7 separate regions of the Homo sapiens genome follow, and all the other regions are linked to region 1. The links are contacts of gene promoters, found by promoter capture Hi-C in blood cells and fetal thymus (Javierre and others, 2016). All regions are on one chromosome and are shown on one strand. Each heading gives the region's core, a stretch centred on a gene start or on the middle of the fragment in contact. The rest is flanking DNA. Distances are from core to core; before and after follow the strand shown.

Region 1 (2,600 bases), core at 66-2,565:
GTATAAAACCATACTGCCTACTCTGAATTAGACCCCAACCTGGCAATCTTTTGGTTCATTTTTATAAACTTCTTATCATGTTCCTGAGAGCAAGTATTCAAAATCTTCTAGGTTCTTTTACGTTATCAAACATGGCTTTGGTCCGTCACTTTCAGCTGAATCCCTTGGATCTAATTAATGAGGTCAATATCTTTGATCTGTTACAGAGATATAAGGTGAAGAAGTCAGACTTGTAATTATTTAGCACGTCAAATTCACCTTAATATACAGATTCTTAGACCCTCTTCCCCTCCCCCAAAGATTCCAACTCAATAGATCTGGTGAAAACCAGGAATCTGTAAACGCCCAGTAATTCAGAAGCAAACGTAAGAGATCAAATTCTGAGAAACAATGTGTTTCTCTGAGAAAGAGAGGAACGGGATTCATTCTGTAATGACAGGACAAATTCATGTACCATTCAAAACGTCTTTCACAACTAGGACTCATATTTATTATTTACGTTTACAGACTTATTATACTTGTAGCCCTACGCCCAAGGCTCTATCATCATTTACAATCCAGTCACTTCCTCAAACAAATGTATTTGCTCCGTTCTCTGCCTTTTCTCAAAATGTTCACTTTCCTTCCACTTAGAAGGCCCCCTCCGCTTTCTTCCGCAAAATTCAGGATCCAAGATAAATATCACCTCTATGCTGAGTCTTTCCGTACAGGACCCTCCCCAACTCACCTGCAGTAACTTAATACATAACTCTACCATTAAGCAATACGGAACACTTCCATCAACCTCTACACTTTAGTATGGACCTTAGTGTAATGCCTGACAGGGTATACACTCAACAAAGTTTACTGGATTCAAGAATTTGGCCCAAGTACATGAGTGGCCAAACAGCCCTCACAGACATCCAAGATTCCTGGTAGGCGCTAGCTGGGATCGCTCCTGAAGTTCCTCGCTGCCAACGCCACCCAAGGGTGGCGTGGTGGCCAGCGCCGCTCGGAAGACGGGCAAGGAGAAACCCCCGAAGCGGAACGTTGAGAACGGAGGCCCAGTTAAGCCACCCTCCCAGGGGAACAACGGGAGGAACCCGGGCCAAACACGGCAGACGCAGAAGCACCCAGCACCGAGCCGCCGCGCCCAGGAACCGCGGGAGCTAGGCTGAAGCAAGAACTGGTGTCGACCGCCTTACCTTGCAATCGTTGCGGACGAACATCATGCCGTGTCCAGGATAGATGGGCCCCGAACAGAAATAACACTTTTCGATACGCATGTTGAACCCGCGTGTAACCCCACCAAACAAACGCCAAGCTTGAGAGGAAGTGATGCAACCCCGTCACCGGAAGTTACCTTCTTCCCCCTTCCCCGACCGGAAAAAGGCAAGCGTCCTTCGTTCTCGCGGGTCTGTTAGACCAGATGCGAACACGACTGTGCCTCCGGCGGCCGTGTGGTCAAATGCGCTGCCGTTTGACGCAGGCGCAGAGCTGCAGACTAGACCTGTTCGCTGTTACTTTGGGGAAATGTGGTTCTGCGCCACCTTGTGAACTTGCTCTCACAGCGCCTAGTTTTTTCTCTCTGTGTGTCGGCATTTATGCAAGTATTATGTATCTTTGGTTTGTGCTTTGCCTCGGAGTGCTCTCGAGAGCACTCTCTTAACTCATTTGTCTACTGCCTGCCCTAGACCAGCCCTCGATTCTCGTCCCACAGTGATTTGCAGGGTGTAAGCGGCGAAGACCCTGCAATCCAGCGTTGCTTCGAACATTGCAATGAAAACGGTTGAGTTGCTGATGCTCCAAGGACTTTACCAGCAATTTTTTTAAATATAAAATCGTGTTATCCGCCTCCCCCCCATTTTAATTAATATGCATATGTAGTAAACAAATATTTTCGCCGGAAACTACGACTCCCTCCCTAGACCTGCGGTCTTCCTCCCCAGGGGCAAAACAGTTCCATTTATTACCTGCCAGAGCTTTTCTGTGCATAGGCAAACATGTATATTTGTGTGTTTGCCTGTCTCTACGTCCTCTTCTTTATAATACTAGTTAATATGCTATTTACTCTTTTCTGCATCTTGCTGTTACCTTGTATCCCTTCATTGGAATGTGAGCTCCATGAGGGGCAGGGATTTCAGTTCGTTTGGTTTACAACTACATCCCAGTATCTAGAACAGTCCCTGGCACATAATAGGCATTTGATACATATTTTACTGTAAAAGGGTATTTAACATTCTTTTTCATATATATATGCCATTGTATGAAAGTATTTTAATTGGTCACTAATCGATGGGCATTCTTATCTTTTGATATAATAAGTATCTGTTGGTACGCTTTTTCAGGAGAGGGTTTATGTAGAACTGCTGGATCAGAGGAGCTGGATATAGATAAATAGTTTTAAAATTTGGCAGATAATACTAAATTGCCTTCCAAAAGTTTTTACCAATTAACACTCAGCATCAACAAATAAGATGTCTGTTTCACTACCCCGCTGTGAAAAGTGATCTTTGCCAACCTGAGATGAAAATTTATCTTATTATTATTTCAACTTGAATTTAATTACAAATGATGTTAAGAATCTTTCACAATGTTTTTCAGCTTTTTTCTGTGAATTG
Region 2 (2,600 bases), core at 101-2,600, 4.8 Mb before region 1:
CTAGATAAAAAACGTACTTCAGTAACTTGCCTGAATTGAGAGAGCAAAACAGTCCGGAGAGAAAACTTAAAATGTTTCCACATTATCAAGCCCCCTTCAGAAGTACTGTGGTCTCGGCCCCTCCTTTGAACAGATGTCCGCTCGCCACAGTCCAATCAGGTTTAAAGCAAGAGTATTTGTACTGAAAACAAGCTTAAAGTGGGAAGACACACACAAAGCAGGCCTGTATCATTCCTTTGGTTTCAGTTTTCACGATGCACCCTTGAGGCTAGGCACGCTGATTCAACACACTTGGAGAGCTTCACCGAAACACACTAAACACACAGTGATGAACTGTGCCCTGGCAGAGATGACCTGGCAAAATTCTCAACTTCTTCCCTGAGGCAGTGCACCCGCAGTTCTCGGCGGCGAAGTCTTTGGGGCAGAAGTCCCGAGCCTTCAGAACGGCAGGCTTCTCCCCCTCAGGACTCCAGTCCCCGCGGCCAAGGCTGTCGCTGCGGGGGCCCCGCGCGGGACTGGCCAGGCTCTTCCATTAACCCTGTCTGGTCCGGCCGATCCCGCCGCGACCCGAGCGCCTCTCGGCCCCGCAGCACAGGGCGCCCAGGACCCGCCACCCTCGCCGCCCGTTCCCCTCTCCGGAGAGCCCGGCGGGGCCGTCAGGCTGCCGAGACAAAGGGTACCGCGGCGCCAGAGGCCGAGGCCCAGCCGCGCCTGCCTTCCTCTTTCTCCCGCCCACTGCCAACCTCCAGTCGCCCGCAGAACCTCCGCTGCCTCGGCGCGACCCCATCGCCACCCCGGGGCTGCCGCTCGGGACCGGCAAGCCGGGTAGCCGCGAGGCGGCCGCGGCATGCTAGGGCCGAGGAGGGGGCGGCGGCCGCCACCATGTCTGCCCGCCCCTCCCAGAAGCAGTGTGCCCAGCGGACAAAGCGCAGCGGCGGCGCGGGCGCCCAGGCCGACCCCGCCGACCCCCGCGGAATAAGCGGGGCCAGGAGCCCCGGAAACCCGGCGCCTTAATGCAATAAACAGGAAATCGCGGGGATGATCTGGGTTCCGGGGGAAGTGGAATTATTTTTTACCAGCGAAGAGATCAACTTCCACATCCGGTGGTAACAGGGCCCTACACAGACCCGCACTGACCTGGAAAAGCTTCGGGAGCGGCGACGGGAAGGCAGCAGGAGGTGGTGCGGGGACCCGAGGCGCCTCGTACCCGGCCGGGCTGACGCGGCCCCGCTACACACAAAGCGCTTCAGCTGCACAGGGCGCTATTTTCCGAAAATGCCGCGTCTGGTCGGCGCCCAAAATCCCCACCGAAAAGTCCCCCGTGCTGCGCGCGGAGGGACACATGGTGTGCGAGTGAGTCAAGCTCCCAGCATCCCTCCCGGACCCGGCCCTCTTCAGCTCATCGCCCGAGGATTTTCCGCCTCTGCCCTCGTCGGCAGATCCTGCTCCTACCCACTCCCTAGCTGTGTTCCCGCGGGGAGAGAGGGGAAAGAGGGTCTGATTTTTTAACGAAGGGAAAGAAAATATGCCATTTCTAGCGCTTCAGCCACACAAAGAAAGCGGCGGAATGATCCGCTCTCGGCGACCGCAAGTCCCGGCTCGCCCGGCGCCTGCGCGGCAGCGGGGGTGGGAGCTGCGGACGGCCATGTGCGCGGCGGAGAGGCCGGGTGGCCACCGAACCTTCCCGCCTGTTCTGCGGTGGGTAGGAGTTTGGAAACTAATGTTCCTGTGCTAACCTTCGTGTCTCTGTGACATGACTGTTGAAAGACGGAGAGTGCGGAATCTTTGGAGTTTTAAGCTTGCCAACTGTGCGGCCTAGCAGAATCCTGGGAGACGGAAGGACAGCCAAGAGGCTAGGATTTACCTTTAAGTGTCCCTAGATTCAACTAGGCAGACTGGGACGGGAGACGCTGTGAAGGTACCAGGGAAGGAACGAGTGAGGTTCCTTTTCCACTTTTTCATAAACTCAACAGTCAGGTTCATGACGAAGATATAGATATTTCTGTAGATTTTTTCCCCAACATTCTAATTATGCCTCATGTTTCGTAGATCCTAGTAACTGCTTGGATTACTGCCACCTCAGAGGTAGAGATCTGTTTTTCCGTGGCTGGAATGCCAAAAATTTTGTTGTATTTTATTAAGAAAGTAGCAAAAGTTTGGAGATTTGCAAAGTTAAAAAAAAAAAAAGCATTATGAACTTAATCTAGATGTGATTTGCTAAGGAACTTAATATATTGATATGTTTTTCACAGGGGCGTCTGGGCATGGCTTTCCCAACCTAGTAACTGCAACTTTTAGCATCCTACATGTAGGACTTGGGAATATGTGAGACAGCGCCAAGAATTTAATCCAGGAGAATTGACAAGCTTAAATGAAATCCATATTGCCCACTGATTTTGTGCAGCTTCAGATAAGTAATCTTTCTCCACTTAGCCTTTTGTAACAATTGATGTAATAAAGGTTTGTAGTCTTTGTGTAATTTATTAAAGCATTGTGCCTAAAATAGAAAAAAAGCATAGGAACCATAGGCTGTGTTTTCTTTTGATTTAATATTTTCATTTCTTCAGTTAATAGAAATTTGCCAAATTCTGATGTTTTTC
Region 3 (2,600 bases), core at 39-2,538, 4.5 Mb after region 1:
GCTGGGTGTGGTGGCACACATCTGTAATCCCAGCTACTTGGAAGGCTGAAGCAGGGAAATCGGTTGAACCTGGGAGGTGGACGTTTCAGTGAGCCGAGGTCGCGCAACTGAACTCCAGCCTGGATGACAGAGCGAGACTCTGTCTCAAAAAACAAACAAACAAAAAAACCCACTGTATTCCCTGTGTTTCCAGACTTTTTGGACAAGATTTAGGGTATTTTTACAATTACTTATTGTTTCCTTGAATAGGCAGATATTTAAGCTCTTAAAAATTGGGGAAAAATTCCGTGGAAAAAAAAGCATGGCTTCCAGCCCTTATGCCCTACATAGCAGGTAACACTTGGAGAGTGATACATTAGCTCAGAGCCATGGTCAGCCTTTTCTTGTGTAGTTTTTGGTGTTATGTTTAAATAGGCATTCCTCACACTAAAATTGTATAGTCACTGTTGTTTTCTTTTTCTTTTTTTTTTGAGACGGAGTCTCGCTCTGTCGCCCAGGCTGGAGTGCAGTGGCGTGATCTCGGCTCACTGCAACCTCCATCTCCTGGGTTCAAGCAATTATCTGCCTCAGCCTCCCAAGTAGCTGGGATTATAGGTGCCTGCCACCACGCCCAGCTAATTTTTATATTTTTAGTGGAGACAGGGTTTCACCATTTTGGCCAGGTTGATCTTGAACTCCTGACCTCGTGATCCGCCCGCCTCAGCCTCCCAAAGTGCTGGGATTACAGTGAGCCACTGCGCCCGGCCCATCACTGTTGTTTTCTTCTGGTGGTCTTATAGTTTCTTTTTCTTTTTTCTTTTCTTTTTTTTTTTACATATGAATATTAAATCCAATTGGCATTTTGTGTATGTGCTTATGATATGAATAGGGAGTCTGACTTTACTAAACTGACTAAAGAGTTTGTGTAAAAGCATTTATTGAATAATCCAGTAATTCTTGAACTCACCTAGGACTCAGTCAAATGAATGTTTACTTTCAAAGTTGTCATTTTAGATTACCCACTTCTTTCAAGTATCCATTCATTTGATACATCTTTATTTACTTATTTAAATATTTATTTAGAAATGGGGTCTTGCTATTTTACCTAGGCTGGTCTCGAACTCCTGGCCTCAAGCAATCCTCCTGCCTCAGCCTCTCGAAGTGCTCTGCCATGCCCGCTTGAGATATATATATATATATGTTCTGAGACAGGGTTTCACTCTGCCATCTAGGCTGGAGTGCAGTGGCACGATCTTGGCTCACTGCAACCTTCGCCTTCTGGGTTTGTGCCTCAGCCATCAGAGTAGCAGGACTATAGGCGTGTGCCACCACACCCGGCTAATCTTTTTACTTTCATTTTTTAGTAGAGACAGGGTTTCGCCATGTTGACCAGGCTGGTCTCCAACTCCTGACCTTAAGTGATCTGCCTGCTTCAGCCTCTCAAATTGCTGGGATTACAGGTGGGAGCCACCACACCTGGCCAGTAAATCTTTATTGAACAATATCATAAATCAATGCTGTTGGGCCCCGAGGATGCAGGAAAAAAAAAGACATAGTATCTGCATTCAAAGAGCTTATCAACTGGTTAGGGAGAGGAGCAATGAAGACAATAAACAATTTGGTGGATTGAGGTGACCTTGGTACTTTTAAGGTGCAGCTAAATTGAAGGGAGCTAAACAGATTAGAGAGTGGGAGATAAAGGCAGTAGAGGTTTTCTGAATGAGGAGATCTTGAGCTTAGTAACAAGAGGATGATCTTTCTGGCAGAGGGAATTGGAATATGCAGATTCACAGAGGCTTCTAGGAACTGCAGTGTTCAGCATGACCAGAGCACAAGCAATGGGAGAAGGGGTGGCTGTAAATAGCCCTTAACAAAAAGGAAGTAGTCAAAGGCCAGATTAAAAAGGGATTTTTTTTAATGGTAAGGATTTATTTGTAGCCAATATAATGAGCAATGTGGAAAAGGAATCATCTATTAATTTATAATCGAATTCCAAAAGAAGAGATTGAAAGGTATCCTGCACAGTGGCAGCAGCGTTAGGATGAGTCCTCCTAAGACAACGAACTTTGAGAAAGGCAGCACTCATTTGAATATATGCTTCAGTATGTGTTAAAAGCATTTATGATACTTTGTCACACTTTGTACATTAAAATAAAAGTGCTCAGCCAACATAGACTTGGAAGAGGTGTTGAGCCTGTGCCGAGAGTGGTGGATAGTGATGAAAGGCTGAAGGCATGGACATGATGGCTAGACGGGGAGGCAGAAGACACCATCTGACCTATGCTAACAGGGAGTGATGTATCAGACTGATGAGAACAGGCCCTCTGACAACTTCTTGAAAGAATGATAATAGGCCAGGTGTGGTGGCTCGCACCTGTAATCTCAGCACTTTGGGAGGCCGAGGTGGGCGGATCATGAGGTCAAGAAATTGAGATCATCCTGGCCAAAATGGTGAGACCCTGTCTCTAAAAATACAAAAATTAGCTGGGCGTGGTGGTGCGTGCCTGTAATCCCAACTACTTGGGAGGCTGAGGCAGGAGAATTGCTTGAACCTGGGAGGCGGAGGTTGCAGTGAGCTGAGATCATGCCACTGTACTCCAGCCTGGGTGACAGAGTGAGAC
Region 4 (2,600 bases), core at 67-2,566, 4.3 Mb before region 1:
TTTTTTTTTTGAGACGGAGTTTCGCTCTTGTTGCCCAGGTTGAAGTGCAATGGCACGATCTCAGCTCACTGCAACCTCCGCCTCCCGGGTTCAAGTGATTCTCCTGCCTCAGCCTCCCAAGTAGCTGGGATTACAGGCATGTGCCACCACGCGCAGGTAATTTTGCATTTTTAGTAGAGATGGGGTTTCACCACGTTGGCCAGGCTGGTTTCGAACCCCTGACCTCAGGTGCTCTGCCCGCCTCAGCCTCCCAAAGTGCTGGGATTATAGGCCTGAGCCACCACACCCGGCCAAAAGAAAAGCCTCAGGATTTAAGAGTTTATACTTTATGAGGTTGTACTTTATGAGTACTTCCCATTTTGTCACAAAAAAAATTTTTTAAAAAGTGCACTCAAAGACTGAAATTTAATAAAATTAAGAATTCTTACTGCTTCATCAAGGATATTCTTAAGTGAAACTGACTTAAAAAAAATTGAGTGTATTGTTCCAGGATAAACTATGAGATTCAAAGAAGTTGTTCAATACATTATTTCATCACCACTTGTGTTTCTTGTCAAGATTTATGTAAAAGAGGATCTTCAAGAATTAGTTGGTGCTGACACTGGATGGGTATAAGCAAAGCAACAAGTCCAGCTACATGAATAATTATGTCCATTTTAAAGGAATTATAATTCTGCAGATGACATAGTAACTCAGTCTTTATATTTGCAACTAAATTTCTTTCTTTTTTTTGAGACAGTCTTGCTCTGTTGTCCAGGCTGGAGTGCCGTGGCACCATCTCAGCTCACTGTAACCTCTGCCTCCCAGGTTCAAGTGATTCTCCAGCCTCAGCCTCCCGAATAACTGGGATTACAGGCATGTACCACCATGCCCAGCTAATTTTTTTTTTTTGTATTTTTAGTAGAGACAGGGTTTCACCATATTGGCCAGGTTGGTCTCAAACTCCTGATCTCAAGTTATCCGCCTGCCTTGGCCTCCCAAAATTCAGGGATTACAGGCATGAGCCACCTCGCCTGGCCTGCAACTAAATGTCTAATTTGGTGAGTTATTGCATCTTTGGAAAGTAGCACTCCCATGAGTTCTTTTACTGATTATCAGCTAGCAGGCATTCATTAGTCTTTTAGCTATTGCATGTCCTTCTCCTATCAATGAAATATAATAATTTCATGTGTAAGATGCTTCAGTAGGTTTTTCATTTTTACTTTGAAAATGGTAATACAAAAGCTTTGGCTTTTATAAAGCATATCATCTCTATGTTGAAAGTATTAAATTCCCTTTCTTTTAAATTCTGACTGGTCTGAAAATGATGCCTCAACTTGATTGGCACCATAATAGTATTTGAAAATGTTCTGTTGAATGACATAAAATAAGGCAAGTGATTAACATCTCTAATGCCAAGGGAAAGAAAGAAGCTTTTGTCATACTTTCCTTTGTTATTTATAGTTTCGACCAGATTTCTCCCTTTCCCTGAGTCAGTGAATTCTGATACTGATGTCAGCTTCATCTTTTTCGGCATCTTTACAGACGGGAAGGTTAGAAAGCGAATCTTCTAGTATCCCCTTTTTAAGCCAATGGAAGAACCTAAAATTAAAAAACTATACATAAAACAAAATTTAATTTAAAGATAAAATATTAAATTCCTTTTTTTTTTGGAGACAGAGTCTTGCTCTGTCACCCAGGCTGGAGTACAGTGGTGCGATCTTGGCTCACTGCAACCTTCGCCTCCTAGGTTCAAGCAATTCTCCTGCCTCAGCTTCCCAAGTAGTTGGGACTACAGGTGTGCCACCATGCCCGGCTAAATTTTTTGTATTTTTTTTTTTTTGAGGTGGAGTCTTGCTCTGTCGCCCACGCTGGAGTGCAGTGGTGAAATCTCGGCTCACTGCAACCTCCGCCTCCCGGGTCCCAGCAATTCTCCTGCCTCAGCCTCCCGAGTAGCTGGGATTACGGGCGCACGCCACCATGCCCGGCTAATTTCTGTATTTTTTTAGTAGAGTCATAGGTTGGCCAGGCTGGTCTTGATATCCTGACCTTGTGGTCTGTGCACCTTGGCCTCCCAAAGTGCTGTGATTACAGGTGGGAGCCACCGTGCCTGTCCGAATATTTTGTATTTTTAGTAGAGACGGGGTTTCACCATGTTGGCCAGGTTGGTCTGGAACTCCTGAGCTCAGACAATCTGCCCGCCTTGGCCTCCCAAAGTGCTAGAATATAGGCATAAACCACCGCGCCCGGACGACAAAATATTAAATTCTAGGCAGGGCGTGGTGGCTCACACCTGTAATCCCAGCACTTTGAGTGGCTGAGGCGGGCAGATCATGAGGTCAGGAGACCGAGGCCATCCTGGCCAACGTGGTGAAACCACATCTCTACTAAAAATACAAAAAATTAGCCGGGTGTGGTGGCACGCACCTGTAATCCCAGCTACTCGGGAGGCTGAGGCAGGAGAACTGCTTGAACCTGGGAGGCGGAGGTTGCAGTGGGCCGAGATCACACCACTGCACTCCATCCTGGGCAACAGAGCGAGACACCATCTCAAAAAATAATAATAAAATAACAAAATTAAATTCTAAAAGAGTATCCCTTTCTGGCTGGGCGCAGTGGCT
Region 5 (2,600 bases), core at 32-2,531, 3.5 Mb before region 1:
GGTGCCTGTAATCACAGCTACTAGGGAGGCTGAGGCAGAAGAATCGCTTGAACCTGGGAGGCAGAGGTTGCAGTAAGCCGAGATTGTGCCATTGTACTCCACCCTGGGTGACAGAGTGAGACTCCATCTCAAAAAAAAAAAAAAATTTGTTTCTCCCCCAAAGTAAGAATATATAGGGAAAATCTCACATGGATAAGCCCAGATGAATACCATAATATATCATCACTGCTTTGAGATGTCACAAAAGGCTTTGAATAGGTTTTTCAAAAGGTAATGAAAATCTTAACCTGTTCTTTACAAGCTATGGCTTAGGCCAAATGCATAGGCTCTAAACTCTGTTACCCATGATGAAATATGAAATCAGACATGCAAAGCGCCAGGAATAAAAGCATTCCATCTAGAAAAAGGAGTAGCAAATGCCCTGGGGCAGGAAAAAAATCATGTGGCTAAAGTGTAGGGAGTAATAAGCAAACTTCCAACCAGGCAGGGCCTTGGGTGCCAAGTTAAGGAATTTGGAATTTATTTTAAATGTGATGAGAAGCCACTGGAGAGTGAAGGCAGGGAGTGACATGATCTGATCACAGTTAAAGATTGCTTCAGCAGCTGGGTGCAGAAAATGGATTAGCAAGAAAGAGGCACCTGCCATAGCACAGACAACAAACTGAAAAATACAAAATGGTGAAACGATGTTTTCTTTTGCTTTGGTATGTTTTTATTTATTTATTTTTATTGTTTTTGAGATGCAGTCTCGCTCTGTCACCCAGACTGGAGTGCAGTGGCACGATCTCGGCTCACTGCAACCTCTTCCTCCCGGGTTTAAGCTATTCTACTGCCTCAGCCTCCCAAGTAGCTGGGATTACAGGTGCATGCCACCATGCCTGGCTAATTGTTTGTATTTTTAGTAGAGACGGGCTTTCGCCGTGTTAGCCAGGATGGTCTTGATCTCCTGACCTTGTGATCCACCTGCCTCGGTCTCCCAAAGTATTGGGATTACAGGCATGAGCCACCGCACCTGGCCTCCTTTGGTATGTTTTATACTTCTGTCTGAACGTAGCTGGGTCTACTGTTCTGGCAATTTCACTTCATATAAAGCTAAGAAAAGTCATGATCCAATCCAAGGAAGAGCTGGAAAACTCTATAGCTTTCCCACCTACCCTCTGTTCAACACTTCCTAAGATCCAATTAATGCTGAGACTAGAAAATGTGTCCTTTCAAACTGATGCAGGACTATCCTCTGTTTCTTAGGGATGGATGAATGGGAGTGGGGAGGTACACTGATCAAATGCTTTCATTTCAAAAGTCTCCCTTAACCTAGATTGAATAGTGTAACTCAATGAAATATGAATTTACTGTCTGGTCACTAAGAAACAGTTTATAGAATAAGGAAAGTAACAGCCAAAGGGTGGTCACAAGTTCAAGTATGGTGAAATTAGGTAGAACAACTGCCATCAATAACTTAAAAACAACGTACTGAAAATGACTCCCCAGCCAGGCGTGGTGGCTCATGCCTGTAGTCCCAAAACTTTGGGAGGCCAAGGCAGATGGATTGCTTGAGCCCAAGAGTTTGAGACCAGCCTAGGTAACATGATGAAACTCCATCTCTACCAAAAAGTATCCCCCAAAACATTTAGCTGGGTGTGGTGGTGCACTCCCATAGTTCCAGCTACTTGGGAGGATGAGGCAGGAGAATCGCTTGAGCCTGAGAGGTCAAGGCTGTAGTTAGCCAAGATCTCGCCACTGCGCTCCAGGTCAGGTGACAGAGCAAGACCCTGTCTCAAAAAAAATTTTTTTTAATAAAATAAAATACAATGATTCCCCTGTGAAGGGAATTCACAAAGCATCCCTCCAGAAGATACCTTAAGAGCAGGCTGCTGAGTAAGGTCAAGAACTCTTCCCATCTTGGGCCAGCATCATCAGTCCACCTACCTAATAGTGAATGCAATTCTCAAAACTTCTTTTTCTTCCTCTCCATTCCTTAAAAGATATAAGCTCATCCAAAAATGTTTCAGGATACATAATAACATGTACATAGCACTGTGTGGCTTGCAGAATGTTCTCATATACGCACACAGCTCTCATCTGATTATTAGTTTACAGAAAACAGACTTCAATATTAAATGATTCTCCCAAGATTCACCGCCACATCTGTCTCCTGTTACATTCTAGATGTTGATGGCAATGAGACCAGACCCCTCCATTGCTATGTGTTCATGAGAAAAAGGCTTTTTTTCTTCCCCACACTGTCAGAAAAGTACATGAGATTCTATTTATGGCAAATGTCCAAAAAAGGCAAATCTATAGATTAGAAAGCATATTGGTGGTAGTCTGAGACTGAAGAAGGAAACAAAGAGTGAGAGGAATGGATGGGCATGGGGATCTTTTCGGGGTGATGAAACTGTTCTACCACTGAATTCCAACAATGGCCTCACAACTCTGTAAATTTACTTAAAGTCATCGAATCGTACACTTAAGATGGGTGAATTTTGTGGTGTACAACCTCAATAAAGGTGTTTAAAAAAATAATGAGAATCTACAAACACCCCGAATGACTAAAGGCTACTTTGCCATACCTCTCACTTTTGGTGGCTCTATTTATAGTT
Region 6 (2,600 bases), core at 70-2,569, 3.4 Mb before region 1:
CTACTAAAAATACAAAAATTAGCCAGGCATGGTTGTGCACACCTGGAATCCCAGCTACTTGGGAGGCTGAGGCAGGAGAATGGTGTGAACCCGGGAGGTGGAGCTTGCAGTGAGCCAAGATCACGCCACTGCACTCCAGCCTGGGTGACAGAGAGAGACTCCATCTCAAAAAAAAAAAAAAAAAAAAAACCGGTATGTACCCAGCCATGATGTTTGTCTTCTGTGATTGCTACCTCCCACTGCTTCCATAGGATTCCTACCTCCAAGCTTCCATAATGAAATCCTTCCCTTTTCATTTCAAATTTTTGTCTTTAGTTTTTCTCAGCTCTCCTATAAATACACGTTTTTACATACACACAAAATATGCTTACATATACCAAAGTAACTATTTCCTAAAGGAACTCTTTGATAACAAGAAAAGTGCTGCTGTTATTAATTAGCATACGATGATTCAGTGTGACATGCTTTCTGAGTTATTCTGGCTGGAAGTTTAGAGATAACACTAATTAGAGCTTGTAATATTAACACATAAAGTAGAGTTGAAGTGTCATTTTATCAATCACTTTCACTCTAACCAAACCCTGAACACTAATGGGAACCATACTCTGTCCCTTGTTCAAATATTTTACCTGAAGGCCTCAGATTTGTTCTCTGTAGTGTGTTAGCCTGTTGAACTTCAACAGTTTTCCATTACTTGAAGTGGGTTAAATGCAGACGGTTGGGGGTGCCATACCACTTCTAGTTCAGATCATCATGTTTCTTTGATTAGGCACTATAGTAGTCAGCTTTTGCTAAGTAAGTCTATAGTAACAAACGAACCTAAACCTCAGTTTCCCCTTCGCTCACATTATATATTATGTCAGCTAGTGGCTGAGGCTCTGATCCATGTAATTTCTTATTCTAGAACCCAGGCAGAAGGACCAGCCTCTATTCAGAACTTGTCTCTCTTGGTGGAGGGAAAGAGCAGGCACACTAGTAGAGAAAGGCAGTGACTCTTAAAGCTTCCACCCAGAACTGTCGGATTGTCCCTTCCACTTATATTTTATTGACCAAAGCAAGATTCATGTTTCTAAACTTTGTGATTACAATATGACATTTAACCGAAGAGAGGAGGAAAATCCCATCATGGGATCATAGCCAAGCCTGGAATGCCTGCGGGGCAGCACTGGAAGTCACATAGTAGTGGGCAAGCCTGTCTATTCCTCTAAAGGAGAGCAAATATGTGGGAACAATATTTCAATCTACCACAGGTATTTAGTGGACTTACCTTTTCACTTATTTATGTAAATCTAATTTCCATGTTTTTCCTGTTTGTTTTCCTCCAAGAATTATGTTTCCAACTCTAAGGGAATAGTGGCAACCCTAAATTATAGCCTTTTTAAAAGAGAGCTCTGTCTCTATTTCAGGACTTTCACAGGATCTTATTCTCCTGTGTAGTCAACCCTCTTGCAGCTGGTGTTTACATCCAAATCAGGTCACTGGCTGGCATTTACAGGTGAACCTTCTGGGTCTGTGTCCCAAGAGGAGAGTAGGAGAGAGAGGGAAGAACCCAACATTCATTTATTTACAAATATTTATTGAATACTTTCTGTGTGCAGGCAGTATTGTAGATGCTAGGGATGGAGGAGTAAACAAAGCAAAGCTTGTTGAGCTTCCACTAAGGAAACAAGCAATATGAAGCTATGTGGTAAAAGTGCTATGACGACAAGTAAAGAAAGGAGAGAATGGCAGGGTAAGGTGGTAAGAGGAAGACTTTCAGAGGTAACATGTGAGCAGAACCTTCATTAAAATGAGGGCATGAGCTAGAAGCATCTGGGAGGAAAATCATTCTCCTGCACAGCATAAAGACTCTGAGATGGGGAGAAACTTGGCAGGATTAAGAAACCTCAGGGAGGCCAGTATGACTAGAGCAGTATCAGAGAGAATATGTGGTAGGAAACAAAACAATCATATACAGATTTGTAGAGGTGTTAATTATGGATTTTATTCTAAATGTGATGGAAGCCATGAACGGTTTGGAGCAAGATGGTGATATGATCTGATTTGTTTTTAAAAGATCATTCTGGGCTGGGAGTGGTAGCTCACGCGTGTAATCCCAGCACTTTGGGAGACCAAAGTGGGCAGATCACCTGAGGTCAGGAGTTCAAGACCAGCCTAGTCAACATGGCGAAACCCCGTCTCTACTAAAAAAATACAAAAATTAGCTGGGTGTGGTGGGGTGGGGGGCCTGTAATCTCAGCTACTAGGGAGGCTGAGGCAGGCAGAATTGCTTGAACCCCGGAGGCAGAGGTTGCAGTGAGCAGAGATCACGCCACTGCACTCCAGCCTGGGCGACAGACAGAGACTCCGTCTCAAAAAAAAAAAAGTCATTCTGGCTGCTAATATAGCGAATGTGTTATAGCAAAGGAGTGGAAGAAGTGAGGAAGGTTCTACCTCTTCAGTGCTATCCAATACTAAGGTATTACTCTTAACATCTCTGGCCCCATATGTGGTATTTAATGTACACGGATTTAAGAGATTCATGTTTATAAGCTTTGTGATAAAAATATGATAATGTATGCCTGAAGAAAGGAAAAAATCCACCATCAAACTGCATTATT
Region 7 (2,600 bases), core at 65-2,564, 3.0 Mb before region 1:
GGATGAGTTGATTACCTTAGCTGATAGCCTAAAGGGGTCTCCCTGACTAGGGCAGAGGCTACTGGGCCACCTATATAGCAACACTAAAATGCAAAAATGTACAGGCATCTAACACATGTTGCTCTGGGGAATAAACCATACCCCTCTGGTGTCAGCCGCATACCCTAATTTGGTACTATAAAACTCATGTGTCTGGCCACACATTCCCAATTCACAGGAAACCATCCTTGGATTCCAAAATGGGAAATATCTGCAGAGGTCATCACGAAGCAGGGGCTGGGAATCTCAGCTGGGCAAGAAACAAGGCCTGTGTGTGTCAGAAACAAATCTGTCAGGCCAGGCACATTAGCTCACGCCTGTAATCCCAGCACTTTGGGAGGCTGAGGCGGGCAGATCACCTGAGGTCAGGAGTTCAAGAACAGCCCGTCCAACATGGTGAAACCCGGTCTCCACTAAAAATACAAAAATTAGCCAGGCATGGTGGCACATGCCTGTAGTCTCAGCTACTTGGGAGGCTGAGGCAGGAGAATCGCTTGAACCTGGGTGGTGGAACTTACAGTGAGCTGAGATTGTGCCACTGGACTCTAGCCTGGGCGACAGAGTGAGACTCCGTCTCAAAAAACAAACAAACAAACAAACAAAAAACGGCCAGGCGCAGTGGGTCACACCTGTAATCCCAGCACTTTGGGAGGCCAAGGTGGACGGATCACAAGGTCAGGAGTTCGAGACCAGCCTGGTTAACACAGTGAAACTCTGTCTCTACTAAAAATACAAAAATTAGCCAGGTGTGATGGCATGTGCCTGTAATCCCAGCTACTCAGGAGGCTGAGGCAGGAGAACTGCTTGAACCCAGGAGGTGGAGGTTGTAGCGAGCTGAGATCATGCCATTGCACTCCAGCCTGGGCAACAGAGCCAGACTCCATCTCAAAAAAAAACAAAACAAAACAAACAAACAAACAAAAACATCTGTTAACTAAGGGGCTGCCAGTCACCATAAGAGATACAGGAAAGTGCATGCTGCCAGCCCCTGCTCTGGGGAGTGAACAGATTCAGTTTATGGTCCTCCCCAGCCTCACCAGACCCTTCCCACCTTCCCCCAGGCTCTCAGCCACTTGCTCAATGGGGAGCCCTGCAAAGAAAGCTGCATCATTCCTAAACTGAATCCTGGCCCAATCACTAACCAGCTGCATGACCCTGAAGGAATTATTCGACTTTGCTAAGCCTGCTCGCTCATCGCACAGATGGGGATGATACCACTTTCCTTCATACAGGGAAAAATGACAGCACTGTTGTTTGCACCTGGCAGGGCTCTAGCTTATACTTCCACAAGTAAAACTCATCAGCATCCTTTCCTCCCTTTCCCACCTGAGTGCCAAGGGACAAACACACTTAGGAAGGAGCTGGGCGAGTCTGGGCTGGGGTAAGGTAAGAGCGGCTGCAGGGTCAACTATGGGACCAAGACAAGCTCAGAAATCATCTCTCGCTCTTCCACCTTCAGCTGTAACTTCCATTAGGAGCTGGCAAGTGGCACGCAAGGTAGGCTCTCTGATAAGAGGGAAAGAGACATTTGTCAAGAACTCTTACCCCAGGTCACTTACCTCTCACACTTCATTTCCCTCCCTCAAGCTGTCTTGTTCTGCCACAAAACATGGCAGGCAGAGTGAGCCCAGTAAAGCAATCAGATCCATCCTCTCTCTCAAAACCCTCCAAGGGTTTCCCAACTCACTGGGAGTAAGAGCCCAAATCTTCACTGCACCCATGGGGTCCTGCATGAGCTCCCAGCATAACCTGCAGCTGGACTCTGCCCTGCATACTCCCCTCCAGACACACCTGCCTCCTCACTCTTCCTCAGATACATCAGATACACCAAACACACCCCCTCCTGGGGCCTCTGCCTAGCTCCTCCTTTTTTTTTTTTTTTTTTTTTTTTGAGACGGAGTCTCGCTCTGTCGCCCAGGCTGGAGTGCAGTGGCAAGATCTCGGCTCACTGCAACCTCCAACTCCCTGGTTTAAGCTATTCTCCTGCCTCAGCCTCCCAAGTAGCTGAGATTACAGGCACCTGCCACCATGCCCAACTAATTTTTGTATTTTTAGTAGAGACGGGGTTTCACCATGTTGGCCAGGATGGTCTCAATCTCCTGACCTCATGATCCACCCGCCTTGGCCTCCCAAAGTGCTGGGATTACAGGCGTGAGCCACCCTGTCGGTCCGAGACCCTGTCTCTTAAAAATAAAGATGAATAAAGAAAAGAATGGCTGAGTGCGGTGGCTCACACCTGTAATCCCAGTACTTTTGGAGGCTCAGGCGGGCAGATCACTTGAGGTCAGGAGTTCGAGACCAGCCTGGCCAACATGGTGAAGCCTACTAAAAATACAAAAATTACTTGGGTGTGGTGGCACATGCCTATAGTCCCAGCTACTTGGGAGGCTGAGGCAGGAGAAACACTTGAACCTGGGAGGTGGAGGTTGCAGTAAGCCAAGACTGTGCCATTGTACTCCAGCCTGGGTGACAGAGGGAGACTCCGTGTCAAAAAAAAAAAAAAAAGAAAAGAAAAGTAGAGAAATGAGAGAACCTGGCTGGGAGATCAGGAGACATGTCAA

Evidence for each region. Contacts are between HindIII fragments. The CHiCAGO score rates a contact against its expected background, and 5 or more counts as called.
Region 2: the fragment with the promoter of GABPB1 here is called in contact with the fragment with the promoter of RSL24D1 in region 1 in 1 of 17 cell types (non-activated CD4 T cells); the score reaches 10.2 in non-activated CD4 T cells.
Region 3: a fragment that was not itself captured here is called in contact with the fragment with the promoter of RSL24D1 in region 1 in 1 of 17 cell types (fetal thymus); the score reaches 7.9 in fetal thymus.
Region 4: a contact is called between a fragment that was not itself captured here and the fragment with the promoter of RSL24D1 in region 1, in 3 of 17 cell types (non-activated CD4 T cells, total CD8 T cells and naive CD4 T cells). The highest score is 7.4, in non-activated CD4 T cells.
Region 5: a contact is called between a fragment that was not itself captured here and the fragment with the promoter of RSL24D1 in region 1, in 4 of 17 cell types (non-activated CD4 T cells, naive CD4 T cells, total CD8 T cells and 1 more). The highest score is 13.1, in non-activated CD4 T cells.
Region 6: a fragment that was not itself captured here is called in contact with the fragment with the promoter of RSL24D1 in region 1 in 2 of 17 cell types (non-activated CD4 T cells and activated CD4 T cells); the score reaches 13.0 in non-activated CD4 T cells.
Region 7: a contact is called between a fragment that was not itself captured here and the fragment with the promoter of RSL24D1 in region 1, in 1 of 17 cell types (non-activated CD4 T cells). The highest score is 5.4, in non-activated CD4 T cells.

Annotation. Positions count from the first base shown.
Region 1 is chr15:55,195,626-55,198,225 of GRCh38, forward strand. RSL24D1 (ribosomal L24 domain containing 1) reads right to left here and starts at 1,316. Exons shown (of 6, transcript NM_016304.3): 1 at 1,185-1,316. The coding sequence starts at 1,265. RefSeq lists enhancers at 436-1,327, 1,121-1,280. The HindIII fragment of the contact is 1,416 bases long and covers 1,302-2,600 here.
Region 2 is chr15:50,353,848-50,356,447 of GRCh38, forward strand. GABPB1 (GA binding protein transcription factor subunit beta 1) reads right to left here and starts at 1,351. Exons shown (of 9, transcript NM_016654.5): 1 at 1,138-1,351. It overlaps GABPB1-IT1 (GABPB1 intronic transcript), which reads right to left and starts at 1,032. Exons shown (of 1, transcript NR_026891.1): 1 at 1-1,032. It overlaps GABPB1-AS1 (GABPB1 antisense RNA 1), which reads left to right and starts at 327. Exons shown (of 1, transcript NR_024490.1): 1 at 327-2,600. RefSeq lists enhancers at 335-394, 1,133-1,756, 1,825-1,904 and silencers at 525-734, 745-994, 1,575-1,624. The HindIII fragment of the contact is 652 bases long and covers 1,145-1,796 here.
Region 3 is chr15:59,693,192-59,695,791 of GRCh38, forward strand. No RefSeq gene overlaps it. Among named protein-coding and RNA genes, the nearest start is that of BNIP2, 5.2 kb to the left of the region's middle. The HindIII fragment of the contact is 5,936 bases long and covers 1-2,600 here.
Region 4 is chr15:50,903,865-50,906,464 of GRCh38, forward strand. No RefSeq gene overlaps it. Among named protein-coding and RNA genes, the nearest start is that of AP4E1, 3.5 kb to the right of the region's middle. The HindIII fragment of the contact is 188 bases long and covers 1,223-1,410 here.
Region 5 is chr15:51,728,740-51,731,339 of GRCh38, forward strand. All of the region lies in intron 1 of LYSMD2 (LysM domain containing 2), which reads right to left. Among named protein-coding and RNA genes, the nearest start is that of LYSMD2, 7.6 kb to the right of the region's middle. The HindIII fragment of the contact is 4,514 bases long and covers 1-2,600 here.
Region 6 is chr15:51,824,746-51,827,345 of GRCh38, forward strand. No RefSeq gene overlaps it. Among named protein-coding and RNA genes, the nearest start is that of TMOD3, 3.6 kb to the right of the region's middle. The HindIII fragment of the contact is 641 bases long and covers 1,000-1,640 here.
Region 7 is chr15:52,175,123-52,177,722 of GRCh38, forward strand. All of the region lies in intron 3 of GNB5 (G protein subunit beta 5), which reads right to left. Among named protein-coding and RNA genes, the nearest start is that of CERNA1, 3.6 kb to the right of the region's middle. The HindIII fragment of the contact is 4,470 bases long and covers 1-2,600 here.